Linked DNA regions of Homo sapiens: all the other regions are linked to region 1. Evidence: promoter capture Hi-C in 16 types of primary human blood cells and fetal thymus (Javierre and others, 2016). All regions are on one chromosome and are shown on one strand. Each heading gives the region's core, a stretch centred on a gene start or on the middle of the fragment in contact. The rest is flanking DNA. Distances are from core to core; before and after follow the strand shown. Region 1 holds the start of PSMC4 (proteasome 26S subunit, ATPase 4). Region 2 holds the start of SERTAD1 (SERTA domain containing 1). Region 3 has its middle 2.5 kb from the start of EID2.

Region 1 (3,186 bases), core at 287-2,786:
ATGTATGTATTTCTACCTTTCGATCAGTCAAAATACTCTGAAGAACATTGCACTGCACTGCCCTGCCTTGTTTGCTGCTGCCTAGCACATGGTAGGAAATAGTTGTTAAGTGGACAGATGAATGAATGAGGTGTCCTTAGCACACCTGTGGTAGAGCCCACGATGGCTGTATTCTGATCCACAGCCTCCAGAAATTGTCCGATGACCAGCGGGATGCTTTGGATTCGCTTCACCTCCTCCTGGGCATGGAGAAATTCCTTTTTCAGGTTCTTTTGCTCATCTTTGATGTATTCCTCCTGCACCTCCAGGAACTCCAGCTCTTGCTGCAGCTTCTGCGAGCAGAGAGGGGACAGAAGGGGATGGCTCCAGACTTGCTGATCCAGAGAGTGGTGGAAAGTGGGGAAGAGTATGAGATGTCAGGTCCTGTGCAAGGTCTGGGTTGGGGGTCGAATGTACCTTGTAGCGGCTGTACAGGTCCTCCAGGTCCTCAGGCTCAGGGCCCAGGAAGGACAGGCCGGTCTGGGGCCGGGACACGGACAGTGCTGGGATCTCATCCTAGACGAAAGGGGATAACTCACATTGGAAGAAGACAGTCCTCTCATGAAAGCTTCCCAACTTCACTAATGTTTGTTCCCCTCCCCACTTCACCCTGATGTCACTTAGCCCCTAACAGACCCCTGATATCTTAAGACCCTCTAAATAGATCCTGGAAACCTTTTGGCCACCTAAACAAGCTCTTTATGTCAACTTGCCCCTCAAACAGATCTTATGTTATCATATACCACTCATAACATGTCCCCAGTGTCACACAACCCCCAACTAGGATCTAAACGTCACATCAACTCCTTATCAGACCCAAATGCCACCCAATCCCCTTCAAGAGGTTCCTAATGTCACATGGCTCTCCTAGATAGGCTGTTAAAGTGACTGCGCCTTCAACGAGTCCCAACATTCCCCAGTTTCCCCTCAAAGATCCCTTATGTCACAGTCTCCTAACTCACCTTAGACCTAAATATCACTCAGGCAAGCCACAGATAATACTTAACTACCCGCCCCATTACCCCCATCAGCAAAGCCCTGAACATCAGTCAGCCCCGCAGCCCAGACCCGGGGATCACTCGGCCGCACGGCGGGATCCCATATATCACTCACCGCCTGACCCAATCCCAACGCCGGGCCACCGACCTCACTAAGCACTACCGGCCAGGGTTCGAAATCAATCCGTCTCAAAGACCCACTAACGTCACTCACTCCCCCAGCCCCGCTTTCTGAGCCTTACCTCCTACCATCACTCGGCCACCCAGACAGGCCTTCGAATGGCACAAAGCTCTCCACCGAGGCCTCTAAAATAACCCCAACCTGGGCCGGGGTCCTGGAAGCCATTCCTCCCCCCACTCAGGTCTGGCTTCACCCTCTCCCCGCGAGCCCGGCCCGGACTAAAAAGCCCAAGTCCCCACTGTACCTGAGCCTTCTCCACCAAGATGCCTATCTCCTCCATAGTGACCAAGCCGGCCTCTGTGTGGCCTGGGATGATCTGTCACCGCTTCCGCTGACGACAACGGAAGTCCCTGGCTGAGGAGGCTTCTGGGAAGTGTAGTTTAAGTTACGGCTGAGAGGTGCTGGAAGGGCAGGATAGGACGAAGGGCTGGTCTGGGCTCCGCCCTCAACATAAGCTCATGCGCTGTCCGTACCCGCAGGCGCGAGGGCGGGACGGGAGCTGTGGGCGTGCGCAGTATCACGCGGTGGCGCCATCTCGCCCTGCCGTGGAGGGCTGGGGGTTCTCTCCGGGAGGTGGCGCAGCCCCGTTGCTCTTTCAACGGAGTAAGTTCGCAGAGCTCTGGCACGGACAGTCTGGCGGCCAACTGCTCTTCGCTTTCTAGTGTCTGGGCTGGAGGGTCCTTGAGCTGGGTTCCACAGAAGGGATTGATCGTACGGGCGGGTAAGGTCTCCACGTGGCGCTGATCCAAAGATTGTGCGCCGCGCGGGCGTGGGAAGATCCGAGCTGCCCCTGAAGGTGACATTTCATACTGGGCTTTACCCCGGGATTGAGGAGCCCCGAGCCCGCAGTGAGCAACCAATCGAGTAGAACCCACGCGTCTGGGCTGGGGAAAAGGAGGCAGCGAGTGCCCAGAAGTTGGGTAGCACAGGAGATCCATAGACCTTAGTTCTGTATCCCAGGTTTCCGCCTTACAGATCTATGCCAGGTCCTGCGCTTAAGCTTTACAGGCATCATCGTCGCAAGTATTATGTTTCCTCATTTATAGAGAAGGAGACAAGCTCAGAGCCACGAAGCCACCAGCCACAGTCAACAATGTGCCGAAGGGACAAAGCATAGATTGGGACCCAGGTCTGTCTGTCCCCAAAGCCTGTACTCTTGGCCCCAGGGAAACACTGCTACCCTTCACACCAGCTACAATTTTTGTTAAGTAAACCTTTTATTGAAGTTAAATAAAGAGAAGAGCACAAATCATTACAGCTCGACAAAATTACACAAAGTGAACATGCCCATACAACCTGAATCCAGATCGCAAAACCAAACAGTAGAAGCCTCATGTGCTCCCCTTTCCCCCATCCCTTCTTCTCCCCCCTCCACTCCCCGCCCCGAGACGGAGTCTCACTCTGTTGCCCAGGCTAATATTTGTATTTTTAGTAGAGACAGGGTTTCACCATGTTGGCCAGGCCGGTCACAAACTCCTGACCTCAAGTGATCTGCCTGCCTTGGCCTCCCAAAGTGCTGGGATTATAGGCGTGAGCCACCACATCCGGCCTCCCGATCCCTTCTAAAGGTTATCATTCATCTGTTTTTTTCTTTTTTTTTTAAGAGCTAGAGTCTCTGTCGCCCAGGCTGGAGTGCAGTGGCACGATCATAGCTCACTAGAGTCTCCAACTGCTGGCCTCAAGCTATCCTCTCTCCTCAGCCTCTGAAAGCACTGGGATTACAGGCATGACCCACCCCATGTAGCCTTTAAAAATATATCTTTTGAAAGAGATTCTTGCTCTGTTGCCCAGGCTGGAGTGCAGTGGTGAGATCACTACTCACTCCAGGTTCAACCTCCCAGACTCAAGCAATCCTATACCTCAGCTTCCCAAGCACCTGGAACTACAGGCGTGTGCCACCACGCCTTGCTAATTTTAAAATGTTTTTTGTAGAGATAGGGTTTCGCTGTGTTGCCCAGGCTGGTCACG
Region 2 (3,186 bases), core at 182-2,681, 450 kb before region 1:
CAATTAAATCTAGGTGAGAGAGTATTCAGGCGTGAGCCACTGCATCCGGCCATGGGAGGAGTATTATACCCTGTCTACCTCTAGCCCCATCCTGCATGTCTATCCACCTTGAACTAAGAGCTTGTCTTATTACAACAGCTATTACTACTAACAAAGAAACAACGTTGCTAACCAGGCATGGTGGTGTGCGCCTGTAGTCCCAGCTGCTTGGGGGTCTGAGGCAGGAGGATGGCTTGAACCTGGGAGGCTGCAGTGAGCCGAGATGGCACCCCTGCACTTCAGCCTGGGTGACAGAGCGAGACCCTGTCTCAAAAGCAAAATAAAATAAAATAAAAAGTAAAGAAAAAAATAATAAGCAGCTGGGCGCGGTAGCTCACGCCTGTAATCCCAACACTCAGGGGCCGAGGAGGGCGGATCACCTGAGGTGAGGAGTTTGAGACCTGCCTGGCTAACATGGTGAAACCCCATCTCTACTAAAAATACAAAAATTAACCGGGCGTGGTGGCGCACGCCTGTAGTCCCAGCTACTCGGGAGGCTGAGGCAGGATAATTGCTTGAACCTGGGAGGCGGAGGTTACAGTGAACCGAGATCGTGCCCCTGCACTCCAGCCTGGGCGACGGAGTGAGAATCTGTCTCAAATAAATAAATAAATAAATAAATAAAATGAAAAAAAAAAAAAAAACACAAAACATGTTGCACCCCACTCTGAAGATTTTTCATGAATTAATTTAATCCTTAAAAACAATCCTGTAAACTAGGCGCTATTTTCTCTCATTTTAAAGGAGAAACAGACCAGAAGGGATTAAAACACTTGCCGCAGGTCACACAGCTGCTTAGGGAATGGAGCCCGGGATGTGATTCCGTTGGTATCGCACTCCCACCTCACTCCCGCCTTTAACCACAATTAAGTCCAACTGTCCAGCATTGCTTGAGTGTGGTATTGTGTTCTTATAGATACGATCCTACTTAAAGTATCCTGTCAAGAGGTAGGCAAGACGATCCCCATTTAACTTTGTGTAGCTTGAAGAGGTTGATCATTTTTCCAAGGTCACGCATCCAGTGAGTGGGGAATCCGGAGTCGGAATTTGAACCCGGGCATTATCTGTAGTGTAGACCCCTGTCGGGGCTGGATGTGTAAGAAGCTTAATTGCCGGGTTTGGCAGGTGCATGGGTAGTTGTGAGGGGCTCGTATTTTGAGAGGCAAAAGCCCCCACTCGCCACCGTTCCCCGGAGTAAAAAGCCACCTCTTTCCACCCCTCACTCGCGCAGCTGCCCGGGCATGCGCCCTGAAGCCCCTCCTTCAGAATCCGCCCCCTACAAGCTCCGCCCATCACCATGCAGGGCCAATCCCTGGGGCGGAGGGCGGGGCAGCCACGAGAGTGGGCGGTCGCTAAGGGTAGTTAGGAGTCTGGAGTCGTGAGCCGGAGTCAGAACTGCGTCTCGCGACCCAGGCGCGGGTTTCCGGAGGACAGCCAACAAGCGATGCTGCCGCCGCCGTTTCCTGATTGGTTGTGGGTGGCTACCTCTTCGTTCTGATTGGCCGCTAGTGAGCAAGGTATGTAAATGAAGGGGCCTGGGAACAGAAGGGCTACCAGCGGCCGGGTCCTTCACAGAGTTCGATCCCTGGGTCCGACAGGTGCCCGCCGGGGCTGCCCGGGATCGAGACGCACGGACCTCTACGTGCTGTCTGCCCCGGCCGGGCCGGGTGAATCACGCCGCAGTCCGAGAAGGGGGCGGAGGCGCCGGCTTCTTGGCTCCGGCTGCGTGACTCACCCGCCCCCGCCGCCGCCGCTTCGGGAGGAGCCGCCTCCACTGCCGGAAGCGAGCGGAGGCCGGGCGCAGAGAACAGCCCGCCAGGGGTCCCGGCTCGCACGGCGCCGGGAGGCCGGCAGGAATCACAGCCGGGAATCGGGGCAGTAGAAGGGGTCCTGGGGTCAGAGGGGCCAGAATCCCCGGGGGAAAGCCGGCCTGGGCACCGCTAGGGGGCGCCGGGACCCGGGGGCGGAGTCGGGGGTGGGGGCGGAATTCCTGCGGTTCCGGACTCCCCGGACTGCGGGGAAGGGGACGAAGACCCTGTTTTGAGTAGTGTGGTGGGCCATTCTTAAAATCTTGCTAGGCAGGGTTCCGAAACTGGACTCTACAGTCTTCCTGGCCCAAAAAAGTAGGTAGCGCCAGGAGTCCAAAACTCCAGCCCTACCCCCGCCACTCCAAGAACAGTGGACCCTCAAACTTATCTCAGTGACTGAACCCGGTGCCGATCACGATTTCCCGACAAGCCCTGTCTATTCTGCCTCCCAAATAAGTCCTGACTCGACCGACTTCCTTCCATGCCACTACCAGCTCCTACTCCAGGCCATCACCATCGTCCGTCCCAAACGAGTACAGCCTACCAGTGGGTCTCAGATCCCCCCTCTTTTTGCCCCCCACAGTCTTCCTCGAAGCAGCCATGGGGGGGATCTTCCGGAAACCTAATCAGCTCACAGCACCATTCCCTCCCTGCTCAAATTCCTTTAATGACTGCCCACCACACTCAGGATAAAATCCAAACTCCCTACTTCTGCATATGTGGCTTTCTGTGACCTGGCTTGTGCCCGTTCCCCTAGCTGCTCCCCAATCTGGTCTCCTACCATGTCACTCTCTGTGTGCCACCCATGCTGGTCTCTTTCCAGTTCAAGCCCATCCAGCCTCTGGGCTTTTCTCTGCCTTTTTTTGTTGTTCCCTCCTCCCGGAATGCTTTTCCCAGGGTCTCCCATGGCTGACTTCTCTGGCCTGAGGGCTCCATTCAAATGTCACCTCCTTACAGGAGCCTTCTCTGATGATCTAAAAGGTCTCTAGGAACTTTTAGTGTCTTCCTGTAATTCTCTGTACATTTCCTGTGTTTCCTTATTTATTTACTGTTTGAAACATAGTCATAGTAGACAATAAATATTAAACTACGTGAAACTAGTTTAGTATTTATAATATTATAACTTATTTAGATATAATTATGTTATTATAATAAAATATGTGAAACAGCTGCTTTTGTAGGGGAAAAAGTTGAATATTGGCCATTCCACATGGTTCACTGAAGAAATAATAATGTTATCATTAAGTGTACTTATTGGCAGGGTGAGGCAGCTCACACTTGTAATCTCAGTACTTTGGGAGGCTGAGGAAGGAGGATGGCTTGAGGCAAGGAGTTTGAG
Region 3 (3,186 bases), core at 227-2,726, 430 kb after region 1:
TGCAGCTTTGCTAACAGTTTCCTTTGTGATTTTCTACCTTTCATCCACTATGCAGTGCCAAGGCCACTGGCACATACTTGAGGATTTTGTTAGGGCAGTGCCCAGCTCCTGGTACCAATTTCTGCAACCGTTAGCTAACAGTTATCTATTGCCACAATGATACTGCATAGCAAATCATATCAAACACTGTGGCATAAAACAAGAAGCACTTATTGAGCCTATGCATCTAAGAGTCAGTTGGTAGGTCAGCTGGGGACTGACTGATTTTTTTTTTTTTTTTGAGGCAGAGTCTTACTTTGTTGCCCAGGCCAGAGTGCAGTGGTGCAATCTTGGCTCACTGCCTTTGCCTCCTGGGTTCAAGCGATTCTCCTGCCTCAACCTCCTGGGACTACAGACACGCACCATCAAGCCCAACTTATTTTTGTATTTTTTAGGAGAGACAAGGTTTCACCATGTTGGCCGGGCTGGTCTCAAACTCCTGACCTCAGGTGATCTGCCCACCTCGGCCTCTCAAAGTGCTGGGTTTACAGGCGTGAGCCACTGAGCCCAGCCAGACTGACTGATTTTGAATGCCTTGTCTGAGACCACATTCCTCCACTCTGAATGGTCTTCCACCCTCCAGAAAGCTGGTCCAGACTTGTCCTCATGGTGGAGATGAGTTATAGAGTTAGAGAGAGAATGAGAAGTATGAAATTCCTCATGAGCACTAGTCTTGAAACTGATGAACCATCATTTCTACCACATCTTATGGGTCAAACAAGTCATAAACCAGTTCTCATTCAAAGGATGGAGAAAAAAAATCTACTTCTTTTTTCTAATTATTATTGAGACAGAGTCTTACTCTGTCATCCAAGCTGGAGTGCAGTGGCACAATCATGGCTCATTGTAGCCCTGAACTCCTGGGCTCAAATGATCCTCCTGCTTCAGCTTCCTGAGTAGCTAGCCACACACTACCATGTCTGGCTAATTTCTTCTTTTAGAGACAGGGTCTTGCTATGTTGCCCAGGCCTGGTCTGGAAATCCTGGCCTCGAGCAGTCCTCCTGTCTTGGCCTCCCATAGTGCTGAGATTACAGGCATGAGCCACCACGCCCAGCCAAGAATCTATGTCTTTTTTTTTTCTTTTTCTAGACAGAATCTCACTGTGTCACCCAGGCTGGAGTGCAGTGGCGGGATTCTCCAGGAGAATCACTTGAACCTGGAAGGTGGAGGTTGCAGTGAACCAAGATATCGCGCCACTGTACTCCAGCCTGGATGACAGAGCCAGACTCTCTCAAAATATATATATTAATTGGATTCAAATTCTCTCTCTCTCTCTCTCTCTCACACACACACACACACACACACACACACACACACACCTCTGCTGTAAAGATTTTAAGCAATATGGAGCCCCTGATCCCAGCTGCCTTAATGGTTTAGTCTACAACATGGTTACAATCATCCTCAAGTCATCCCGAAATAGTGGCAGTGAATTACAAAGATGCTGCAGCCACCGCAGGCACAGTCTTGGGAGCAACAGCAAACCTGGACTACCTCTCAAATTTTTGTTTGTATCCCCTCACATTATCACCAAGTTTTTCTGCCTTCCTCTATTTGTAGCTTCTTATTTTAGTTCACTTCATTTTCCTAGAACCATTTTTATATCACTTCCGGATCTAATAAACCATCATTTTACTTAGAGCAATTTCTATTCTTAGAAAATCAGAGGGCCTTTCAGCTTCTGCTGTAAGGTGACTCTTAGTCCAGAGAACAAGATTATATCCGCTTCTGTAGGATTACAGCAAATTACTATGATTTCTACTTCTTCCTGTGATAATATATGTTGTCACCTAAGTCTGGAACTTCCTTTGTTAAATATTTGTGACTCTCCAGGCAGCCTGAGGGTGAGAACAATAGATCTGTCTCCAGCCTAGCCTGGGAGCTGCCTTAAAGGAGCCGCACACTTAGTGATTGCAGAGATGCTGGTGGGAAGCAGCAAGTAGACTAGCTGTTGTGTTTTATTAATTTGGTGCTTGGACCAGGAAAATTAAAATGCAGTCTTGTGCTCTGTGGATGAGACCTTACTGCCTCAGAATAGCTACTTCTGATAGGGCAGAGAACGATAAGTCACTTAAGTCATTTGTTGATGGTCATGAATCATGGCATCATGACGGGGACCACCACCAGCAAAATCAAATCAAATTATTTTGTTTGTTCACATTAATCAGAACAAAGGGAAATTAATTGGAGAGTCAGTATATAAGATGCATGTTTTAATATTACAAGATCCATAAAAGAATGGTAATAAGCCGGGCACAGTGGTTCACGCCTGTAATATCAGCACTTTGGGAGGCCAAAGCCTGGCGGATCATGAGGTCAGGAGTTCGAGACCAGCCTGGCCAATATAATAAAACCCTGTCTCTACTAAAAATACAAAAATTAGCCGGGCATGGTGGCGCGCACCTGTAATCCCAGCTACTCAGGAGGCTGAGGCAGGAGAATCACTGGAACTGGGAGGCAGAGGTTGCAGTGACCCAAGATCACACCACTGTACTTCAGCTTGGGCAACAGAGCGAGACTTCATAAAAAAAATGGTAATGAATATAATAACTATCAAGAAAATAAAGTATTTATAAACCATAATGAAAATGTAGGCTGGAGGCCGAGTGCTCTGGCTCACCCTATAATCCCAGCACTTTGGGAGGCTGAGACAGGCGGGTCGTTTGAGCCCAGGACTTTGAGACCAGCCTGGGCAACATAAGGAGACCCTGTCTCTACAAAAAAATTAAAAATTAACTGGGTGTGGTGGTGTACACCTGTAGTCCCAGGTACTCAGGAGACTGAAGTGGGAGGATTATTTGAGCTCGGAAGGTTGAGGCCACGTTGAGCTGTGATTGTGCCACTGCACTCCAGTCTGGGTAACAGAATGAGATGAAAGAAAGAAGGAATGAAGGAAGGAAGGAAGGAAGGGAGTGAGGGAGGGAGGGAGGAAGAGAAAATGTGAATGGATGAATCTCATAAAAATAATGCACAAAAAAACAGATACAAGTGTGTATGTGAGAAAACATTTTAAATGGTCCATTTCTGAGGCATGATAAATCTAAGTACTGGCAGCCAGCCTGCAAATATAACAAACTGCAGGGCTCATCCACCTAGAAGGTCACAATAAGGGAACAGAATGTAGAGGCGGGGTCAGCCCATAAAAG

The links. Contacts are between HindIII fragments. The CHiCAGO score rates a contact against its expected background, and 5 or more counts as called.
Region 2: the fragment with the promoter of SERTAD1 here is called in contact with the fragment with the promoter of PSMC4 in region 1 in 1 of 17 cell types (naive B cells); the score reaches 5.1 in naive B cells.
Region 3: a fragment that was not itself captured here is called in contact with the fragment with the promoter of PSMC4 in region 1 in 2 of 17 cell types (naive CD4 T cells and total CD4 T cells); the score reaches 6.9 in naive CD4 T cells.

Annotation. Positions count from the first base shown.
Region 1 is chr19:39,969,515-39,972,700 of GRCh38, reverse strand. It overlaps PSMC4 (proteasome 26S subunit, ATPase 4), which reads right to left and starts at 1,536. Exons shown (of 11, transcript NM_006503.4): 1 at 1,463-1,536; 2 at 457-555; 3 at 146-332. The coding sequence starts at 1,498. LOC124904720 (a long non-coding RNA gene) reads left to right here and starts at 1,730. Exons shown (of 3, transcript XR_007067260.1): 1 at 1,730-1,821; 2 at 2,265-2,347. RefSeq lists enhancers at 573-1,252, 1,277-1,666, 2,167-2,216. The HindIII fragment of the contact is 1,611 bases long and covers 610-2,220 here.
Region 2 is chr19:40,424,237-40,427,422 of GRCh38, reverse strand. SERTAD1 (SERTA domain containing 1) reads left to right here and starts at 1,431. Exons shown (of 2, transcript NM_013376.4): 1 at 1,431-1,556. RefSeq lists a silencer at 1,974-2,063 and an enhancer at 2,106-2,908. The HindIII fragment of the contact is 9,774 bases long and covers 1,146-3,186 here.
Region 3 is chr19:39,541,108-39,544,293 of GRCh38, reverse strand. No RefSeq gene overlaps it. Among named protein-coding and RNA genes, the nearest start is that of EID2, 2.5 kb to the right of the region's middle. The HindIII fragment of the contact is 4,487 bases long and covers 1-3,186 here.